6 separate regions of the Homo sapiens genome follow, and all the other regions are linked to region 1. Evidence: promoter capture Hi-C in 16 types of primary human blood cells and fetal thymus (Javierre and others, 2016). All regions are on one chromosome and are shown on one strand. Each heading gives the region's core, a stretch centred on a gene start or on the middle of the fragment in contact. The rest is flanking DNA. Distances are from core to core; before and after follow the strand shown. Region 1 holds the start of SAAL1 (serum amyloid A like 1). Region 2 holds the start of PIK3C2A (phosphatidylinositol-4-phosphate 3-kinase catalytic subunit type 2 alpha). Region 3 has its middle 15 kb from the start of PTPN5. Region 4 overlaps PTPN5 (protein tyrosine phosphatase non-receptor type 5). Region 5 overlaps PTPN5 (protein tyrosine phosphatase non-receptor type 5). Region 6 overlaps SPTY2D1 (SPT2 chromatin protein domain containing 1).

Region 1 (3,522 bases), core at 660-3,159:
CTGGCTAACACGGTGAAACCCCGTCCCTACTAAAAATACAAAAAAAAAATTAGCCGGGCGAGGTGGCGGGAGCCTGTAGTCCCAGCTACTCTGAAGGCTGAGGCAGGAGAATGACGGGAACCCCAAGGGGCGGAGCCTGCAGTGAGCCGAGATCGCGCCACTGCACTCCAGCCTGGGCGACAGCGAGACTCCGTCTCAAAATAAATAAAATAAATAAATAAATAAATAATTTCATGTCTCCATTCCTGTTTGGTCATTATATTGATATTTTTGAAATTTCATGTGGAAGTAGCTTATATCATCTATAAATTTAATTCCATTAAATCAAAGTGGGTACTTGTAAATCAATTCCATCATAGGTAATTTTTTTAGTTTAATGTTTACGATTCTTATGGAGAAAGAAGTGTTTTTCATTTACCTTTGCATGGGTGCTTAAAATACACATTTCTATTTCAAGATGACACTGAAAAATTCTTCTAATATAACAGCAGCAAAAATGTAATTCTGCAATTACAAAAGTGCTAAACTGAAATCCATAATTAAGGTTTTCTCATGTTTACAATTGTGGTTCTTTAATCAATACTAATACTATGCAGGTCTGTTGTAAGGTTTCTAGATTCGGTTTAAACACACGCACACAATACTGTCAGTTGTAGGAGGCTTTACAAGTTATATTTCATGCACTTTTTTTTAAAGAGTTCTAAAAGAGCCAACCAGTCCACAAGACAGACAGAAAAAAAGTTAAATTAACTGGAGTAAATTGGACTCTTAACATTCGAAACATGCAAGATTCTGCAGCAAACTGGGAGTACTTCAGGATTGGCCTGCTATCTTCCTTAGTATTAATTTCATCTTAACAGTTTAAGAAGTTGGACATTTTAACACCATCAAGCGCATTTAGGTGACGTGTTTCTTGTGTGTTAACTTGGCTCCCCGGAATGATCTAGTTAGTGAACTAGTCACTAATAATTTGGTCACCAGGCAAATCAAGCCTACACGAAAGGAAGCGACTATTCAAAATACCGTAGTATCATCTGAACCTACCCAAATAATTTATGTTCAACATAAACATGTAACTTCAATAATGAGATGACTCATTAATGAGTCAAGCTCCTCCAACAAGACAAAGACAACATCTCTTCTTCTAAGGTTTAAGTTTTGCATAGAAATCCGGATACATGGAATAGCCCATACCAACAGTCATTGCTCCTACAACAAAGCTGGACTGCCACACGCATGTGGATCAGGTGACGTGATATTTTAGTATTTCCCCTGCTTTTCAATTTGTATAATCCGTATGCAGCAACTACTGCAAAACCTGCCATTCCAATGGGGACAAATGGTGCCTCTTTAGTTTTTCGAATCACTTTGGATCCCTGGAATCCCTCACAAGCCATCCAGCTTCCCCTACGGATATTTTTAGGAATGGCAACAGTGGCCAGAGATCAGAGGATTATATTATTAGGGTTATACAACTTTTATATAAAAAAAGTGGCTTCTGACCAGGCGCGGTGGCTCACGTTTGTAATCCCAACACTTTGGGAGGCCGAGGCAGAAGGATTGCTTGAGCCAGAAGTTCGAGACCAGCCTGGGCAACATAGATCAGAAGGCGAATAGAATAAGTCCGCTAGCTTTGAGATTCACATCTGTTCCTGAGGCTTCCTCACTGCTCCCCACCCTTCCTTCTTCAATCAGTCTAAGAGCTCCTGGAGAAATGGAACACCTGATTCAGTGAGGGTGACAAATAATTATGAGTATGTTCGTGCCAGGGTCCTCGATAGGATGGGGTGGGGGAGGTCAAGCCGCCTTGGCAGCTGGCCAGGCTCCGAACAGCAGATGGCGCTGTAGGGGGAGTCCCACCGGGTACGCCGGGCGCTCTGGCACTAGGGCGCCGGTCGTCTCCTCCGCAGCTTCCGGCACGGCCTTCAAGCGCGGGACGCGACAAAGTCATGGACCGCAACCCCTCGCCGCCGCCGCCGGGTCGCGACAAGGAGGAGGAGGAGGAGGTGGCCGGTGGAGACTGCATAGGGAGCACGGTCTACAGCAAACACTGGCTCTTCGGCGTCCTCAGCGGACTCATCCAGGTGTGGAAACTCGCGCCACGCGTGGGGTGTCCCTACATCCCCCAGGCACCGGGGCTCCGCCTCTGGCGAATCCTCCTGCCCCGGGAGCCGCCATCCCCACAAAGACCCCTCCCCAGGCGTGCGCTGCGGGACCTTGCTCCTTGCGTTTCGCCGGCCGCTGCGGACCCCAAAACTATCTGGGCCCCCTCGGGGTCTCTCGACACAAAGGGAAGTATAATGGTAGGGATGCTGAAATACTTGCCGTTCTATTTTGCTTTCCCAAGTTCTCCAAAAATACATGATCGTGTAACTGCATTCCTCGGGTTTTGCTCCCCATCCCCACTGTCATTTCTGAAGCCCAGGTCCTTAATTTATGTATTTCATGGACTATCGTTGTAATAGAATAAATGGTGACTTTAGGGTTATACAACTTTTATATTAAAAACGTGGCTTCTGACCAGGCGCGGTGGCTCACCTCTGTAATCCCAACACTTTGGGAGGCCGAGGCGGAAGGATCGCTTGAGCCAGGAGTTTGAGACCAGCCTGGGCAACATAGACCTGGTTTCTACAAACTTAAAAAAAAAAAAAAAAAAAAGCCGGTCGTGACGGTGCACGCCTGTAGTCCCAGCGACTCAGGAGGCTGAGGCTGGAGGATCGCTTGAGCCTGAAGTTGGAGGCTGCAGTGAGCTATGATCCAGCTTCTGCACTCCAGGCTGGGGGACGGAGTAAGACCCTGTCTCAAAAAAACAAAAAACGCAGCTTCCTTACCCACTAGCTGCAGGTCACCTAACGGCTCAGAACCTCTATTTGTCCCTTAATTTCTATAAAATGGGATTATAATATTTATATTATATATAAGGTTATTGTGTAGGTTAAGTGAGATTATAATGGCAACAGAGTGCTTAGCATGGTGTTTGGCTTATAGGAGGCTGTCAGTAAATGTGTTTTCTTCCCCCCATGTTTCCCTAATTGGTTCCTCTCCTCCTATTGTCTATCCTCTCCAGTCAATTTTCTACACAGCTGCCAGAATAATCTTCTTTAAAGACAGGGCTATTCATGATACTGCTCTTAGTTCTTTTTGCCTGGGAGAAAAATGCATGTTTCTTGAAGTTTGGAATCCAGGGCTGTTTGTACATTTTCCAGCCTCATCTTCTCATGATACACTGTGTTCCATCAACTCTGAACTGTTCACCATCCCCAAACATGCTAGGCCCTTTCTTAACTCTGAACTCTTGTGCTTTCCTCTGAATACTCACTTCTCTCCTTCTTCACATGACAAACTACTATTCTTCCTTTAAAATTTAGCTTAAATATCAGCACCTAAGGGAAGGTTCCCCATCTTCTCCTAGGAATAGGTCATTGGTCCATCGTTTTTGCTACCAGAACTCTTTGTCCACAATTCAGTTGAATCACTTTGCCTTTTCTAATATGACTATCCCTTTACATGTCTTTCCCCACT
Region 2 (3,522 bases), core at 626-3,125, 900 kb after region 1:
TATCAGTCATTCAAAAGCTATAATAAAATAATGAATTCAGAACTGCAACAAGGAAGTGACTCAAGGACCAGGGCCCTCTGCTGCTGAGACTCAGGGGAAATACGTTTCATTAAAAAAAAAAATTAGAAGAAAAAATCCAGTCTGTCTCGCTGGATCAAAAAAAAAGAAAGGAAGAAAGAGAGAGAGGGAGAGAGGAATAAAGAAAGAGAAAGAAAAAGAAAGAAAGAAAAAGAAAGAAAGAAAGAAAGAAAGAAAGAAAGAAAGAAAACAAAAGAAAAAAAAAAGACAGACAAATAGTTACTCTTTCCTGAAGACTCAGTGTTCTCCCAAGGCCTCTTCCTTCTTTCCTGAAGGCACACTCAGATCTGGAGCAGAAGCTAGGAAGCTACCCTGAGATAAATCACTTTCCCCACCCTTTTTAATCTTGTGAAAGAGCTGCTGCCAATTTTAGAAATTCCTCCTTTGATCAGAAGATAAAGCAGAACAATGCTGCGGAACTAAGTTGATTTCTAAGGGACATTCTTCTAGAGTGTGTAGCCTGCCTGGAAGTGTGTGTGCATAGAGGAGGGGCGGGGTTGGGGGAAAGATAGGAGTTGGAAGGGGGGGGGGTGTACAACAGCCAGTAGCTACAGCCGTAAGAAATAATCACATTTGTTTCTAGAATTCCCCATAGAATAGAAACTCCATCCAATTTTACCATCCCTGCGGAGGTGCAGGCATGTTTATTACAGCGCTATGAGGGATTCATCCACTCCACATTCCCCATTGCCCTAGCCCCCTTTCGCCAACCCCCGTCCCTGCCAAATCAGGCCAATTTCTTTCTTTCCAGTTATTTGCTGAAAGTTCAACTTCTCTTAGAGCCTTCTAATTATGCGTATATCATATAGGCTGATAATTTTTAGTTTAGGCTGAGAAATGCAGCCTAAATCAGTCTGCCACATCAGATTGTGAACGTCTGGATGGTGTGGACCCCCTTCTCCTACTGCTTAAAAGACAATCTTGTTGTAAAACGCTATGGAATCGTTCCTCTCCCCTTAACATCTTTGTGCCCCAGAAGCCCCATCTGTAAATGGGGATAATTTTCCTATATCTTCCCATGGTTACGTAATTTTTAGATCTAACACGTGAGGACCAAACGCTTTACAAGCATAATCTCATTAAATTCTCAATAAGAATATATTATTATGGAGGTTGCATGTGAAAATACTTTGTAATGTAGAAAGAGCCGTCTGGCTGTGAGTTATTATCAGGGGGTTATCTTCCTTACCTGGCTGTTGTGAGGATGAAACGAGACGCCGACCTGAAAGCGTTTTACGTGCTATCAAGCATTTTACAGAAACCACGTGATAGGCTACTAATTACCCACCGTATACCACCTGACCCACCGTGAGGCCTCGGTAAATACTGGTTGGAGTGGACGAGTTTAAGTCTTGCCTGTTCCTTTCAGTCTTCCAATCACAAAGTAATCTCGGCGCCGCCAGGGGCCAAGACACAAATCTGGGAACCTCAGCCTAGATGGAGGAGGGTGCGGGGTCCCGGGAGAGGGGATGAGAACAATAGGGTACTTCAGTGCCCGGGCCCTGTTTAGCGGGTCTTCGGACTCAGGGCCCGAGGGGCGGCCAGCTGGGGTGTCCGGAGAGCTCCCCTCCCCAGGTCTGGGGTGTGCACGGAGAGGCGTCCAGAGCCTGCTCAGCATTCCTCGGGAGAGAGCCAGACCCTGGTCCCCCGGGCCCGTGCGCCCCAGCGCCCCAGCTCCCTTGCTCACGCCACCCCGGCAGCGTCCAAGCCCCGCCCGCCAGCTCAGGTAGGCCGTCCGCGCCAGCCAATTCGCAACAAGTCCGGGCGGGGAAGGCGGTGCTTCCCTGTCCGGAAGTGACGTGCTGCGCTTGGCTGGCTGTGGAGTCGGCCGAAGCTTTCGGCGGCGGCTGAGCCAGCTGAGGGGAAAAATGGCTCGGACTGTGGCGGCTTCGGCGGCTCAGGTTGTGGTAGAGGCGGAGGCTCAGGCAGCTTGAGGTGAGGAGCGGTCGGTGCGGCTGGGGACGATATTCGGGGTCCTGCTCTGCAAGGGTGGAGAGGGGCCCCGGGGTTCCCGGGCTGGAAGGGTCTCTTGTCGCGGCCCCCAGTGCCTTGGGTGCCCGCGTCTGACCCTCCATCCCGTGCTCTTGGCGTTGCCCAGCCCGACTCCCCCCTCCCTCCGGGCCTTGCTTCCACCCAGGCCGTGAGCAAGTGCTGCGCTGGAGGTGCGAGGAGCCCGCGTCCCCACCAGGCCCCTCTTCTCGGGAGCGGAGGTGCGCCAGGGAGTTAGTTTTGTCCCACAGAAGGAGGGCAGGCCCCCCGGCCGCCGGCCCCCCTCCCCCGCCTTGTCCCGCGGGACCGGGCTGGAGCCGCAGTGGCCGGTCCTATTTTCTTGGCAGATTGTTAGTTCTGGCGAGTGTGTGTGTTGTACTTCTCAGTGACGGCCCCTTCTTTCACCTCCTGTCCCATCTCTGGCTCTGGGGGCCAAGGATACTTTTTCTTCTTCCCGGACCCCCCACTCCCACCGCGTTGCCTTTAGCCGCGAATCCACTTGCTTTGGGAACACTATTCTTTCAGTGTGTATTTAGCGCATCATCCTTCTGAGAGAGCGGTCAGATTAAAAAATACTAGCTTAACTCTTCCTGAGTGACGGAGGAATCATAAATAATTGAAGAAAAAGGCACATACTTATTTTCCTCACTGAATTTCTGGCTTTAAAAACGACATTCTCTAGCTGTGGAATTATTTTTTGGGGGAGGAGGGATTGAGGAGGGAAATGAGGAAGGAGAAACTAAGGAAAAAAGTCTGGACATAACGTGGAAGAGAGAGCCTGTTGTAGTTCTTTTCCTATACTGGCCCGATAGAAATTGAGGTTATAATTATATTCTTATTTTGAACAGTGGGGGTTTGAATTAAGTGAAACGAAGGAGGCCTGCCTCTTTGAACAAGATTAGTTATTAAAGAATGTCCTGAAATCTTTCCTGGTGGGTTTCAGGCAGAAAAGCTCTGTTGGGAAAATTTTTAAATCTATTGTAGCATCAAAGGCCACAGCATATAAGAGATGCAAGAAGAAGAAAGCTGTTTGTAGGGGAACGGTGAAGACATAGTAGAAAGAGGGAAGGCTGCACAGAAGTCCAGGAACTAATTCCAGGAGAGACTTTGTACCTTTGCCTCCTTGGCTTGTGGTTCAAGTCTCCACAAGAGACTCCTTTAGCAGCTCTGCCATAGTTGGGGTTGGTGCTCTTTTTTTTTTTTTTAATTGACATGGGGTCTCACTGTGTCGCCCAGGCTGGTCTACCATGCCCAGCAGAATGGTGCTTTTTTTTTTTTTAAATTTGATCTAACCTTATCTGGACAGGATGGTGCTCTTATTCACAGCAGCAAATTAGACGAAAGGACCCTAGTTGAAGTATACAGATTTTATTTTTATATAAGATATTTGTTTAGTATCAAGACAGTGGTTACATACTGAAAAACAATGTAACTGGGAATAGAGAGATTTTATTT
Region 3 (3,522 bases), core at 584-3,083, 700 kb before region 1:
GCCCGACTAATTTTTGTTTTTTTTGGTAGAGACAGGGTTTCACCATATTGGCCAGGCTGGTCTCCAACTCCTGACCTCGTGGTCTGCCTACCTCGGCCTCCCAAAGTGCTGGGATTACAGGCGTGAGCCACTGCGCCCAGCCCCAGTGTCATTTTTTACAAAATGGAAAAAAATCCTTAAGTTTGTATGGAACCACAAAAGACCCCAAATAGCCAAAACAATCTTGAGCAAAAAGAACAAGGCTGGGCCAGGTGCAGTGGCTCATGCCTGTAATCCCAGCACTTTGGGAGGCCAAGGCAGGCAGATCACGAGGTCAGGAGTTCAAGACCAGCCTGGCCAACATGGTGAAACCCTGTCTCTACTAAAAATACAAAAATTAGCCAGGTGTGGTGGTGCATGCCTGTAGTCTCAGATACTTGGGAGGCTGAGGCAGGAGAATCACTTGAACCTGGGAGGCAAAGGTTGCAGGGAGGCAAAGGTTGCAGTGAGCCAAGATTGCGCCACTGCACTCCAGCCTGGGCGACAGAGTGAGACTCCATCTCAAAAAAAATAAATTAATTAATTAAAAAAAAAGAACAAGGCTGGAGGCATCACACTTTCTGATTTCGAAACATGTAAAGCAATGCAATCAAAACAGCATTGTACTGGCATACAACAGACACACTGACCAGTAGGACAGGCTAGAAAACCCAGAAATAACCCTTGCATTTACAGTCAACTGATTTTTGACAAGCATGCCAAGAATACACAATGGGGAAAGAACATCTCTTCAATAAATGGTATTAGAAAAACTGCACATCCACACACAGAAGAAAGAAATTAGACCTTTATCTTACACCATACACAAAAATCAACTCAAAATGGGCAAAAGACTTAACTATAAAGCTGAAACTGAAAAGCTACTAGAAGAAAACGTAGGGGGAAAGCTTCATGACAATTTTCTGGGCAAGGATTTCTTGGATAGGATCCCAAGAGCACAAGAAACAAAAAGAAAAATAGGCAAATGAGATGGCATCAAAGTAAAAAACTTCTGCATAGCAAAGGAAACAATTAACAAAAGGAAGAGACAACCCATAGAATGGGAGAAATATTTGCAAACCATACATCTGATAAGGGGTTAATTTATAAAATATGTAAGGAACTCAATTCAAGAGCAAGAAAAAAAATAAATAACCCAATTTTTAAATGGGCAAAGCGCCTGAACAGATATTTCTCAAAAAAAAAAAAAAAAAAAGACATGTGAGTGACCAATAGGTACATGAAAAAAGGTCAGTATCACTAATCATTAGGCAAATGCAAATTAAAGCCACAATGAACTATCCCCCATACCTGTTAGAATGGCTTTTATCAAAGAGATAAGATATCAAGTGTTAGAGAGGATTCAGAGAAAAATGGAACTCTTATATACTGTTGATGGGAATGTAAATTAGTACAGCTGTTATGAAAAACAGTATGGAGTTTTCTCCAAGTATTACAAATAGAAATACTATAGGACTCGGTAATCTCCTTTCTGGGTATATATTAATAAGAAGCTGAAATTACACTTTGGGAGGCTGAGGTGGCCAGATCACCTGAGGTCAGGTGCTCGAGACCAGCCTGGCCAATACGGCGAAACCCTGTCTCTACTAAATATACAAAAAAATTAGCCTGGTGTGGTGGTGGGTGCCTGTAAGCCCAGCTACTCGGGAGGCTGAGGGAAAAGAATCACTTGAACCCAGGAGTCAGAGGTTGCAGTGAGCTGAGATTGCTCCACTGCACTCCAAGCTGGGTGACAGAGCAGGACTCCGTCTCAAAAAAAGAAACTGAAATCAGTATGTTGAAGGGGTATCTCCACTCTCACATTCATTGTAGCATTATTCACAATGGCTAAGGTAGGAGAACGATCTAAGTTTCCATCAACAGATAAAGAGAAATATGGTGTACATATTCAATGGACTACTATTCAGCCTTTAAAATGGGGGAAATATTGTCATTTGCAACAACATGGATTAATCTGGAAGACATTGTGGTAAGTGAAAAAGCCAGGCACAGAAAGACAAATACCTCACGATTTCCTTATAAGTGAAATGTAAATATGTGAATTCATAGAAGTAGACAGTAGAATAATGGTTACCAGATGCTGAGGAAGAGGGGAGGGAGGAAATGAACAGTTGCTGATGAAAGAGTACCAAGACCCAGATTACATAAGAGGAAAGGATTTTGAGATCTATTGCACAGAAGGCTGACTATAATCAATAACAATGTATTATATAATATATTTCATAATAAGTACATTTCAAATGTCTCACCTTAAAAAATGATAGGCAAGAAAGGTGATTGATATGTTAATTAGCTTAATTTATTAATGCCACATTGTATACCTATATTAAAACTTCACATTTTACATCATAAATGTATACAATTATGGTTTGTCAATCTAACATAGTATTAATAATTTAAATTTTTTAATGTCAGGTCTATCTAATTCTGAAGCCCATGTTTTTTCCACCATACCATCATTTCTGTATTTAATAAAATGTTTGTTTCATTTTCAAATCATTAAATCATAGAATGTGTTCCTGATTCTTCCCCTTCCCTGTCCTCCTTTCCCCATTCCCTTACAGGCTTCCCCTGAGAGCACTCCTTAGTAAATCACATGCACATGAATCCCCACCTCAGATTCTGCTTCTGGAGAACGTGGCCTGAAATTACAAAAGTGATCTCAATTTCAACATGGGCACAAAGTTTAAGTGAAGCTTAAATTGAAGTAATGATCATTTGAAAGTTATGTTCTGGACCAGGGATTCCCAATCCTCCCTGTGACTGAAATCACATGGTACAGTTTTTAAAATGCCATTTCCCAGGTCCTGTCCTAGATCTCCTTAACCAAAATTCCAGAAGTCTGACTTAGGAGTCTCCTCTTTTATTTAAGTTATAATATTTCTGATGATGGAAGTTTTGGAACCCATTGGTTTAGACAACTCAGTTGTATTGGATGGTTTAGACATACCCGTATATGAACTTGTGGGTGGGATATGCAAAATGAAATTTTGAGGTTCCTGCCAATATTACAAGTCTATGGTTCAGTTAACAATTTATCACAAATCAATATCTCTTAATTGAAAAAGTGATCTTGATTTTAAACCAGGCATAGCATGATCATTTATTACAAATGTAATTTAATGTGACTTTCTGAAATTCTGACATGAAAATTTTTGAATACGGTACTTGTTTAATTGATTACATTTTATAAAATGGTAACAATTCTTTTTATTACTAAGGTAAACATGTTACTATATTAGTCAGAATAGACTAGGTTACACTCTTACAACAGTTGGAGTAGACTAGGTTACACTGTTGCAACAAATGATACCAAAATCTCAGTGATTTAACACAGTAGAGGTTAAACTCCTGTTCATACAAAGTTTACAGCATGTCTGGACAACTCCTCAGGGCAGCTGTCCTCCACATTCACCACTCAGCAGTGCAGGCAGCTTCCATTCTGAGGCACCTCCATCTTGACAGGAGGTTTAAAGTTCATTG
Region 4 (3,522 bases), core at 292-2,791, 670 kb before region 1:
TACCAGCACTCCGCAAGATTCATCCCAGAGTCTTCATGGACCTTATCCGTGGGAGGAGAAAAGTTATATTAACTGGGAAACAGGCAAAGCCTGAAACACAAGATGATGACAGTTAACATTTTTAGGAGCTTCCTGGCCCTGATCTACACATTTTCCATGCATCTCATGTAAAAACTTTGTGTGAAGATCAACATTCATTTAATCTCCATTATAACCCTCTGGAGTGTAGACACATTTATCCTTGCTTCACAGATGAAGAAACTGAGGCACAGAGAAGTCAAAATCTTGCCCAAGATCAGGCAGCCAGTGGGGGAGCCTTGATTCATACTGGGGGAGTCCAGAGCCAAAGCCTATGTGTTTACTACTTTTATGGTGTTGTTTGTTTGTTTGTTTGTTTTGAGATGGAGTCTCATTCTGTCGCCCAGGCTGGAGTGCTGTGGCACAATCTTGGCTCACTGCAACTTCCGCCTCTCTGGTTCAAGTGATTCTCCTGCCTCAGCCTCCCAAGTAGCTGGGATTACAGGCGCCCGCCACCACGCCCGGCTAATTTTGTATTTTTAGTAGAGACAGGGTTTCACCATGTTAGTCAGGCTGGTCTCAAACTTCTTACATCAGGTGATCTGCCCACCTCGGCCTCCCAAAGTTCTGGGATTACAGGCATGAGCCACCGTGCCTGGCCCTTTATGGTGTTTTTAATGAGCCATTTGTAAATGCTCAAACATTACCCCACTTTTCATTTTTTTTAACATTTGCCTGGTGCCAGATACAGTATTGGACATGGGAAGCAGAAAAGTCCATATCAGATGCTGTAAACCTAGTGATTTAAATAAAGCCTGGGGTTGAGATAAACTGAGTTTGAAGCCTGGTTCTGCAACATACCAACTATATGACCTTGAGCAGGTGACTTAGTGTCTCCAAGTCCCAATCTCCACGTGTAGGTGGAGGATGACTTTTTACCTCATATGGTTCTAGTGAGAGGTGAATGATGTCATACGTGTGCAGTGCTTGGCACGACATCCAGCACACAATAAGCCTGCAATAAAAGGAAGCTGCGGTAATCACAGACCACAGGTTTATGTCCAGGGAGCTCTGTGTGAGGCTGGGAGACTGGCATCAACAGATAATGACCGTATGGAGGGGTAAGAACAGAAGACGGAGTACCCAGTTCTTCCTAAGGGAGTTGGGGAGGGTTCTATTGAGGAGGTGACATTTGAACAGAGTCTTAAAAGGCAAATAAGAATTTTCCAAGCAGAGAAGGGAAAAGGGGGCTTTCCAGTGGAGGAAAAAGTGCATCCTAAAGCATTATAGGTAGGAGCAAGCATGTAACTGAACGGAAATACCAGAAGACGCCCACAAGAAGTGTGATCACACCTTTGCATTTGTGATTGCCTGTTTTCTCCCGGTAAATTAAACTGCATACCTGGGGGCAGGTGCAGGGAGAGGGAGCAGAATGCAATGTTTTCAGAGTCTTGGAGAACAGAGGATCAGACCGGATAACCTTTGAACTCCAAAATCCTGCCTTTCTATCTTTTGGGTCCGTGACCGCCGCACCATTTATAATCAGGTAGGACCATCCACAGCATCAAATCACAGCTGAACCTGGACTCTCTTAATAATTGGCTCAGGCCGGACATGCTTGCAGGTTGGGCTCCATGGACCAAGGCCTGTTTCCCTGATGCTGTGAGCGCCCTCTGCTGGTTCACTGCCGTTCCACCCTCTGCCTCGTTAAACCTGACAGGCCTGGAATTGAAGCCTGACCTCTAAGGAAAGGCCCTTAGAGGTCATCTCATTCAGGCCCTTTGGTTTTCATTTGGAGCTACTGAGATTCAGATAAGGGAAATGACTAGCCCAAGGTCACACAGTAGCCTGGGACTAGAGCCCATGGCTTCTGGGCCCTGGGCCAGTGAGTGTATTCGTCATGGCACTGATGGAACACAGCTGCCACCAACACAGGCTCCCCACCCAAGCCAGCCTCCCAAACTCCCCATGCAAGCTAGCCTCCCAAGGCCTGCTTCCTGGGCTGTTGCTTCAAGTGGAGAAACCCGAGGTCGTGGTCCCGCGCAGGACTTCCAGTCGTTCTTCTGGGGAGAACAGCAGTGATCCCAAGCAAGGACACAGGCACAGGGATCTCCCTCTTGCTCCTTCACTCGTTTGCTTGGGTCACTTCACCCCCTGAGCCTTAGTTTTCTCGTCTGTAAAAATGGTGATCATCACATGCTACTCACATAGATTTATGGTGAGGATTTTTTAAAAGAACATATAGAAAGCAACTGCCATGATATGCTGTCTCTTCCTATTGTATTTGCGGAATATTTTTTCTTACCAAAAGCTAAAAAGTGAAAGAGAGGTTAGGAATGTGGGCAATGGGGGAAGTTCTGTGATAACTAGCTGTGTGGCCTTAGGCAGGTCACTTTACTTCTCTGAATTTCCATTTCCGCCTTTAGAAAATGCAGGAAACGTTAGTACGTTCCTCCAGGGGCTGCTGTGAGGACTGAGTTTGCTAACACCTGCCCTGGAGCAGTTCCTGGCCTGTGTGGTCCGGGTGCAGTAGTGACAGCTGCCCTTTCTGTTGTGAAGATACTGTCATTGTTATCCTCTTCGGTCGGGAGCTAAGATGTTACTGAACAGGTGGTCCGAAGATTGCTTCTGCCCTTTTTCCTGCTTCCTTTCTCTCTCAGATCACCTCCTCCTGTTCCCTTCCATCCTCACCAACCTGACCATGAAATTTTAAAAGTGTAGATTTTAAAAGAAAGCCAAAGTGGCCCTGAGAAGAGGCTGGGAGGGTCCACAGAGTCTGAGCTGAATCACTGTGAATTTCTGACCCTCCACCCCAAAGATGTATTTAGGACAGAATGTGTTGGCTTCAATCATGAGCCCCTGGTCTCTCTCAATGCTGCCTATGCAGCTAGCCCCTGCTACTTTGGTCCCAGCAGGGTGGCCAAAGCCAGCAAAGAATCTGTGTGTGTTTTTCCTGCTCCCATCCCACCCAATCTAGGAATTTGGCAGGACGAGGGCTCCTCAAGCCCCCTCCAGCCCCCTCCTCCTCAGAGTACAGGGGGAAGCTGGTAAATTCAGTTCATACTGGACCTTTGGACCAGACCACAGACACCTGCAGGCCCAGCAACGCCTTTCTGTTGTCAGCGAGGGAGGGCACATGGTCCTGGGATGCCTCTCTTGTCCAAAGGCTGCCCCAGACAACTTGGCATTGTTCAGAGCCCTTTGTCTACACCTGCTTCCCCACCACCACCACCCTCATTTCTCTGCTGTGCCTTTGTTGGTGGTTTGCACAGATCCTGAGCACCTGCTGTTCACCAGTCACCATGATAGTCAACATTCACCTTTCTCATTCACTGGTGATCTTCACCGCCATCCTGTGTGGAAGGTGTTGTCATCCGTGTTAGACATATGAGAAAAATTTAAGGCTCAGAGTGATAAAGACACTTTCCTAGAGCCACACAGTTTGACTAGAGCAGAGTGAAGACCTATCCCCAGGGAAGGCTTCCTAGAGCAATTCAAGATTAA
Region 5 (3,522 bases), core at 313-2,812, 650 kb before region 1:
CAGGTGCCCACTGGTCAGCAATAGTAGAGGCTAACTATTCTCAGACACCAGGATGGAGCCCATCTAGCTAGGCCTTGGGGTGCTATGGCCAGGCAGCTGGGTTCAAATCCCAGCTCTGCTATTGACCAACAGCATGACCTGTGGTAAATTATCTAACTGCTGTGAGTTCCAAATTCCTCACTCTAGAATAAGGGTAGTAATATGATGACATCTTCACAGAGATTTTGTGAGGATTAATTGAGTTCATGGACGTAAAGTGCTTATTACAGAGTGCTCTATAAATGATAGCTAATAGTGACGGTGATGGTTGTTCCAGGATATGGAATGTGAACAGAAAAAAAACCTTTTTTTCCTTTGTGTTTTTTCTTTCTTTGTGTTCCTGTGCCTGGGGCTCGGGCGTCAGGTCCAGGCCAGTTCTACAGCAGTGGAGTGGGGTAGTGTATCTGGTGGTCCTTTCTTGACTCCCCACCACAGGTCTGAGACCTCACTGAACCAGCACAGCCACAGGCAGGAGTGTTTTATGCTTACATATTTAAGGGGCCAGGGTTGGTGGGGAGAATGATCCTCCGTTTTCCTTCACCAGGATAGAAACAGTTCTCATATTCTAGGGAGTTGCCTGGATGTGTGATGACACTTAAAGAGAGTCTTTGCAACTGAAAGAAGGAATGCATCTGGTCCAGTCCCCTGCATCTTCAAAGGTTGATGCCAATGCCCTTTTAGACAAATGGACATCCATCGTACTCCTAACATATGCAGTGACAGATGCCATTACCTTTCTCTTTGGTCTGGCTCAGGGACAAATCACCCCAGCTCTCAGGAATTCTTTATATCTGAAGAAAAAAAAAAAAAACTCATCCTTCCATTGAAGCTCATTTCTTCATTTCAGATCTCAGCATCTGTTTTGGTTGTCTGTTGCTGCCTGACGATCTCAACACTTAGTGGCTTCAAACAACAACCATTTTATTTGCTCATGACTTGGAGGGTCATGCAGGGTTTAGCTGGGTGATTCTTCCATTCCATGTGGCATCAGCTGAGGTCACTCATTCAGCTGAACACACCTCATTCTGTGCTGGGATAGAATGTCGGAGAAAGCTTTTATTATATGTCTGGCACCTCAGTGCTCCTACCTTGGGCTTCCTCACAGCATGATGGTCTCATGGTAGTTGGACTTCTTATGTGATTACCAAGAAGGAGCACTCTAAGAGGGGCAAAAAAGAAGCTTCAGATCTCTTAAGGCCCAGCTCCAGAAGTTACACAATGTCACTCCACTACATTTTGTTGATCAAAGCCAGTCACAGGGTCAGCCTAGATCCAAGGGATGGGAAGTAAATGCCACCTCTTGATAGGAGGAGTGCAGAGAATCTGTGGCCATCCTTCATCCACCAGCACATCCTCTTTATAAGCTTTCACATTCCTCCTAACACTAGCTTCATCCTCTCCTAAAGCTTCCTCCCCTTGGCCTTCATCCCATGTCTCATTCTTTTCCCCAACCTTCCACTATTTGAGCTACTGACCCTTTGTTGCTTAAATCTTCGGCTCTTTTGCTCTTCTCTTTTCTTTGGCTCTCCTCCCTGCTACTTCAAAGAGCACAGCTGTGTGCAGTCCCACCCCTAACATTTGTAAGGCTGTATATGTTATGTCTAGATAGCTAACTGTTCGAAAGCAAGCTGATAAGCTTTGAAAGGAAATATGTTGTCCTTCCACTCTGACGAATATTCATTTGTAGGGAGTTTAAAAGCCAGGTTCAAATAGAGAATTCTGAGTTCTGCACCAAAATATGGGGTCTAGGGAAAGCCAGTCTCCAGTCCACCCCTGCTCTGTCCAGCACCACAAGGACACTCATGAGCACTTGGGTAGATGGGTACCCCAGCCCACACATCTGAGCTCCAAACACACCTTCTGCAAACAGTCACCTTAGCCAGTTCTAGGAATACACACAGCACAGTGTACTCTCATGAAGCAGTCAAAAAAGAGGGCCACCAGGTCCAGGAATCAGGCTGAGGAGCATTTGACCAGGGAATCTGGGGTTTTGAATATGTGGCCTTACAGGGAGAATGTCCCTTTGGTTCCCTGGACTCCTTACCTGTGAGGAGGAGCATACCTGATGGAGGATTGGAGCAGGGCCCTTCAAAGTGTGAGATCAGGATGAGGGACATTTTCCTGGGTGTAAAGACAGTGCTGAGTGTGTCTGCCCTTGTATTGGGCATTGCCTTTCACTGATGGGCTTGGACAAACCCTGCACTGCTCCATCCCTCCCATGAGGCATTTCCACTGTGAAATGAGAAAAGCAATTTTTTTCATGGTAGTTATAAGAATTCAGTGAGACAATGGATGGGAATGGGGATTTGTAAACCATAAAGTCTTATTCACAGCTCATTTTTTTATGGTTTCTTATTGTCGGATTCAGAAGCCCTGGATGTGAATGAATTTGGACTCCGCCCTTTTTGAGCTTGGATCTTGCATGAATCACTTTACATCTCTAAACTTTGGAATTTCACACACACACATATGAAAATGATGTGTGGGACAGGTGGGGATGTTTATTAGGACCTTGGTGCTGTTTCTTTTTGTTTTGTTTTTGTTTTTTGGTTTTTTTTTTTTTTTGATGGAGTCTTGCTCTGTCACTCAGGCTGGAGTGCAGTGGCACGATCTTGGCTCACTGCAGCCTCCACCTCCCGGGTTTAAGCAATTCTCCTGCCTCAGCCTCCCGAGTAGCTGGGATTACAGGCATACGCCACCAAACCCGGCTAATTTTTTTTTTATTTTTAGTAGAGACGGGGTTTCACCGTGTTAGCCGGGGTGGTCTCGATCTCCTGACCTCATGATCCGCCCGCCTCGGCCTCCCAAAGTGCTGGGATTACAGGCGTGAGCCACCGCGCCCGGCCGGTGCTGTTTCTTTTTAATTCCAAGTGGTTAAAACCTGAAGGATGGGCTGGGTGCAGTGGCTCAGCCTATAATCCCAGCATTTTGGGAGGCTGAGACGGGTGGGTCACATGAGGTCAGGAGTTCAAGACCAGCCTGGCCAACATGGTAAAACCCTGTCTCTACTGAAAATACAAAAACTAGCCAGGCATGATGGCTTGTGCCTGTAATCCCAGCTACTCAGGAGGCTAAGGCACAAGAATCACTTGAACCCGGGAAGCAGAGGTTACAGTGAGCAGAGATCATGCCACTGCACTCCAGCTTGGGTGACGGAGTGAGAATCTGTCTCAAAAAAAAAAAAAAAAAAAAGTGAAGGATGTAAGGGACCAAGAAGAGTTATCAGCAAAGAGGGAACTAGGCTGTCTGAACCAGACATAAGCCAGATGTCAGCTGGGGTAATGTTGCCTTTTAAAATACAGATGAGAAGCCTGCCCAGAATTTCCCATTGCACACCATTTTCCTAAACAAGACAAGGCTTTGCATACAGCATCCTTCTTCTGAGGACCAGTCACTAGCCTACCCCATCTCAGCCCTATTTGGGCTGTGCCTGACGTGACTATTAGATATTGAAAAAGATCATCTTTTTTTTTTTTTTTTTTT
Region 6 (3,522 bases), core at 333-2,832, 530 kb before region 1:
GAATTGCGTGAAAGCCGTGAGTGAGCTGTGCCTGGCACGCTGTGGATTCTAGCGCTGGTAGTTTTTGGCTTCCACATAAACTTCAGCCTAGAGATTGGGAAGGAAATATGTATGTAAGGGAGTTAGGGGGTTTGGGGTCCTTGGCTTGATAGCTTTTTGGCTGGCTTCTCATCGATCTTCAAGTCAAACGTTTAGCGATTTCTTGAAAGAATTCTCTGACTCGGCCCCACCCACTCAGCCACCGAGGTGATTAAATTATCACCTCCCAGGGGATAGGTATCATCTTTTGGGAAGAGAAGTTTAGCAGATTCCACGAAATCCTTGGCCAACAGAATAGGTGAGCTAGTTTCAGCTTCTGTTTACTTGTAGCCTTCCAGATTTCAGTCTTTGTTTAAAATCTAGGTCCCATTTGGTCAGTAGATGTTTGTCAGTTCGCTTACAGTCGCAAGAGCGGTGTAAGACTTAAATGGTAAAGTGGTGGAGAGCGCCTGGTTTCTGGGGGTTATGGCTGTTTTGCATAAGCTAATCATTTCCAGATTTTCAGATGGTACCCACAGCACAGCTGTAAACCGATAAGTTGCATGGTGATGCCTGCGGTTTGAGCAGTGAGGTATAGAACTAAAACGGCTCTCAAAGTCAATTCAGCTAGAATTTATTGAGCTCCGACGAAGTGCTCTGCATTTCCTAGATATTCGTATATTGCAATATTCGTTTTTTTCTCTTCTGCAGCTTTTTTTTGTCTTCTGAGGCTAGTTCATTCTTTTATCCCTTTGAAAATATTGATCTGAAAAAGGTCTATATTTATGTTTATAAATATATGTATATATACACACACACAGCCATCCCTTATCCCAAGAACTCTGAATAACCATTCCTCTAAGCCGTGAGTCATAAGCTTTGCATGTTGAAGGTATAGACTCAAACCTTTGAAACCCAGATCAACAGATTTACTTTCTAGAAGCATCTGTAAATTTTCCAGATGAATCAATATTGGGTCTAGTAACCATTCATCTTTGCATAATTTGGTCTGTATTTCATTCTAGATCTTATTGAATTTCAGTAAAGGTCAAAGATAGTACTAGCTTTGATGCCCAGTACTGTTCTGTGGAAGAATCAGAACTAAGTCATTTCTTATTCTGAAAGCCAGTAGCTGCTGGGAGAAAAGCAGACAGATAATCCTAAAGCAGAAAATTTCAAAATATGTGTATATGTCATAATATATGCATTATCTATGATTGGAATAACAGAAGAATCAAAAAGGGGAAAAAAGTAATTTAAAATTTAATAGATGGGCGCAATGGCTCAGGCCTGTAATCCCAGCACTTTGGGAGGCCTAGGCGGGAGAATCACCTGAAGTCAGGAGTTTGAGACCAGCCTGACAAATATGATGAAACCCCATCTCTACTAAAAATACAAAAATTAGCCGGGCATGGTGGTGTGCGCCTGTAATCCCAGCTACTTGGGAGGCTGAGACAGAATTGCTTGAACCCAGGAGGCGGAGATTGCAGTGAGCTGAGATCGTGCGATTGCACTCCAGCCTGGGCAACAAGAGAAAAACTTCATTTCAAAAAAAAAAAAATCAATAGATAATATAGCCATATATTTTATGAATCATGCATTCTCTGACCTCTCCCCGCCAAAGCTAGTAAGCCTAGAAGTTTGATTTAGTTACCAGCATTATAATTCTTATCTTTTTATGTGGAATTAAAGTCACAAAAGAAACTATTGAGGAATAGGATAAGACTGTAGTTAAATTTCTTCTTCTTCTTTTTTTTTTTTTTTAAGATAGAGTCTCACTCTGTCGTCCGGGCTGGAGGCTGGAGTGCAGTGGCATGGTCTCGGCTCACTGCAGCCTCCACCTGCTGAGTTCAAGCAATTCTCCTGTCTCAGCCTCTTGAGTAACTGGGACTACAGGCACCTGTCACCACATCAAGCTAACTTTTGTATTTTTGGTAGAGACAGGGTTTCACCATGTTGGCCAGGCTGGTCTTGAACTCCTTCCTCAAGTCATTCGCCCACCTCGGCTTCCCAAAGTGCTGAAATTACAGGTGTGAGCCACCACACCCGGCCAAATTTCATGCTTTACTTGATTTGCTTTAACTTGATTCATCTAACTGTTCTATTTACTTTTTCCTTATCAGCTTAAAGTAATTTGGACACTTTCAAACATAAGGAATGTTAACACATTTCTAATATACCCAAACCCCGTATTTAGCATATTAACATTTCCCCATATTTATTCCATCTATTTTAAAAGAAATAAAGCTTTTTTTCTTTTTTTGCCATCTATTTTAAAAGAAATAAAGTGTTTGGTGGTTTTTTTTTTTTTTTTGTTATCTATTTTAAAAGAAATAAAGCTTTTTCTTTTCTTTTCTTTTTTTTGAGATGGAGTCTCTGTTGCCCAGGCTGGAGTGCAGTGGCGAAATCTTGGCTCACTGCAAGCTCCGCCTCGCAGGTTCAAGCCATTCTCCTGCCTCAGCCTCCTGAGTAGCTGGGAATACAGGGGTGCACCACCACGCCCAGTTAATTTTTTTGTATTTTTAGTAGAGATAGGGCTGGTATCAAACTCCTGGCCTCAAGTGATCAGCCCACCTCAGCCTCCCAGACTGCTGTGAGTACAGGTGTGAACCACTGAGCCAGGCCTGTCTTGAAATGTTTCTTGACTTCGATGGTAGCTTAAAAGGATACTTGCTTTCTAATAATCTGTTACCCTGTACACTATGTCTATGATTTTCACAATTATTAAAAACAAAGAGAGAGTTGGGGACTATCGTATCAATTAACAGCTTTATTTCTGGCTGGGTGCTGTGGCTCACACCTTTAATCCCAGCACTTTGGGAGGCCAAGGTGGGCAGATCACCTGAGATCAGGAGTTTGAGACCAGCCTGGCCAATGTGGTGAAACCCCGTCTCTACTAAAAATGCAAAAATTAGCCAGGCATGGTGGGGCACACCTGTAATCTCAGCTACTCAGGAGGCTGAGGCAGGAGAATGGCTTGAACTTGAGAGGCGGAGGTTGCAGTAAGACAGAGGTTGCAGTGAGTGGAGATCGTGCCACTGCACTCCAGCCGGGGTGACAGAGCGAGACTCTGTCTCAAATGAAAAGAAAAATAAAATAAAATAAAAAAAGACAGCTACATCCCTCCCTGCCCTATACACACCCTGCTGTTATAAATTTACTTGATTAATTGATCTGAGAACCACAGAGGCTTTGCAATAACTAACTAGGCTGCATCTCTCTCTATTGATTGGTTCATTTTTCCCTGTTCGCCAACTTCTTCTCCCACCTTCATTTGGAACCTATCAGAGCTAATGCTCAGAATTTCAGTCTTCAGAGTTCTTGGGTCAGACCTTTACTATGGTAAGGAAATCCAGTGACTAGCGATGATTAGACTAAAATCCAAACACCTGTACAGCCACTTCAGCCTTTCAGACTCTTTGCAGAGCTTTTTGTTGTTATTTTGAGACGAGTCTCGTTCTGTCACCAGGCTGGAGTGCAGTGGCGCTATCTCTGCTCACTGCA

What was found. Contacts are between HindIII fragments. The CHiCAGO score rates a contact against its expected background, and 5 or more counts as called.
Region 2: the fragment with the promoter of PIK3C2A here is called in contact with the fragment with the promoter of SAAL1 in region 1 in 5 of 17 cell types (total B cells, total CD8 T cells, fetal thymus and 2 more); the score reaches 15.8 in total B cells.
Region 3: a contact is called between a fragment that was not itself captured here and the fragment with the promoter of SAAL1 in region 1, in 3 of 17 cell types (total CD4 T cells, non-activated CD4 T cells and total CD8 T cells). The highest score is 8.1, in total CD4 T cells.
Region 4: a fragment that was not itself captured here is called in contact with the fragment with the promoter of SAAL1 in region 1 in 5 of 17 cell types (naive CD8 T cells, activated CD4 T cells, total CD4 T cells and 2 more); the score reaches 8.1 in naive CD8 T cells.
Region 5: a contact is called between a fragment that was not itself captured here and the fragment with the promoter of SAAL1 in region 1, in 10 of 17 cell types (naive CD4 T cells, total B cells, naive B cells and 7 more). The highest score is 13.6, in naive CD4 T cells.
Region 6: a contact is called between a fragment that was not itself captured here and the fragment with the promoter of SAAL1 in region 1, in 1 of 17 cell types (total B cells). The highest score is 7.8, in total B cells.

The regions. Positions count from the first base shown.
Region 1 is chr11:18,104,469-18,107,990 of GRCh38, reverse strand. SAAL1 (serum amyloid A like 1) reads left to right here and starts at 1,909. Exons shown (of 12, transcript NM_138421.3): 1 at 1,909-2,084. The coding sequence starts at 1,950. It also overlaps the pseudogene HIGD1AP5. RefSeq lists enhancers at 1,704-1,753, 1,904-2,163. The HindIII fragment of the contact is 5,763 bases long and covers 1-3,522 here.
Region 2 is chr11:17,206,339-17,209,860 of GRCh38, reverse strand. It overlaps PIK3C2A (phosphatidylinositol-4-phosphate 3-kinase catalytic subunit type 2 alpha), which reads left to right and starts at 1,875. Exons shown (of 33, transcript NM_002645.4): 1 at 1,875-2,013. RefSeq lists silencers at 1,727-1,806, 2,157-2,416 and enhancers at 1,947-2,056, 1,562-2,084, 2,085-2,608. The HindIII fragment of the contact is 7,601 bases long and covers 1-1,914 here.
Region 3 is chr11:18,804,727-18,808,248 of GRCh38, reverse strand. No RefSeq gene overlaps it. Among named protein-coding and RNA genes, the nearest start is that of PTPN5, 15 kb to the right of the region's middle. The HindIII fragment of the contact is 1,809 bases long and covers 929-2,737 here.
Region 4 is chr11:18,774,037-18,777,558 of GRCh38, reverse strand. All of the region lies in intron 1 of PTPN5 (protein tyrosine phosphatase non-receptor type 5), which reads left to right. Among named protein-coding and RNA genes, the nearest start is that of PTPN5, 16 kb to the left of the region's middle. RefSeq lists an enhancer at 1,583-1,877. The HindIII fragment of the contact is 8,027 bases long and covers 1-3,522 here.
Region 5 is chr11:18,756,004-18,759,525 of GRCh38, reverse strand. All of the region lies in intron 3 of PTPN5 (protein tyrosine phosphatase non-receptor type 5), which reads left to right. Among named protein-coding and RNA genes, the nearest start is that of IGSF22, 32 kb to the right of the region's middle. The HindIII fragment of the contact is 230 bases long and covers 1,448-1,677 here.
Region 6 is chr11:18,630,413-18,633,934 of GRCh38, reverse strand. All of the region lies in intron 1 of SPTY2D1 (SPT2 chromatin protein domain containing 1), which reads left to right. Among named protein-coding and RNA genes, the nearest start is that of SPTY2D1, 2.2 kb to the left of the region's middle. RefSeq lists a silencer at 429-608. The HindIII fragment of the contact is 1,370 bases long and covers 898-2,267 here.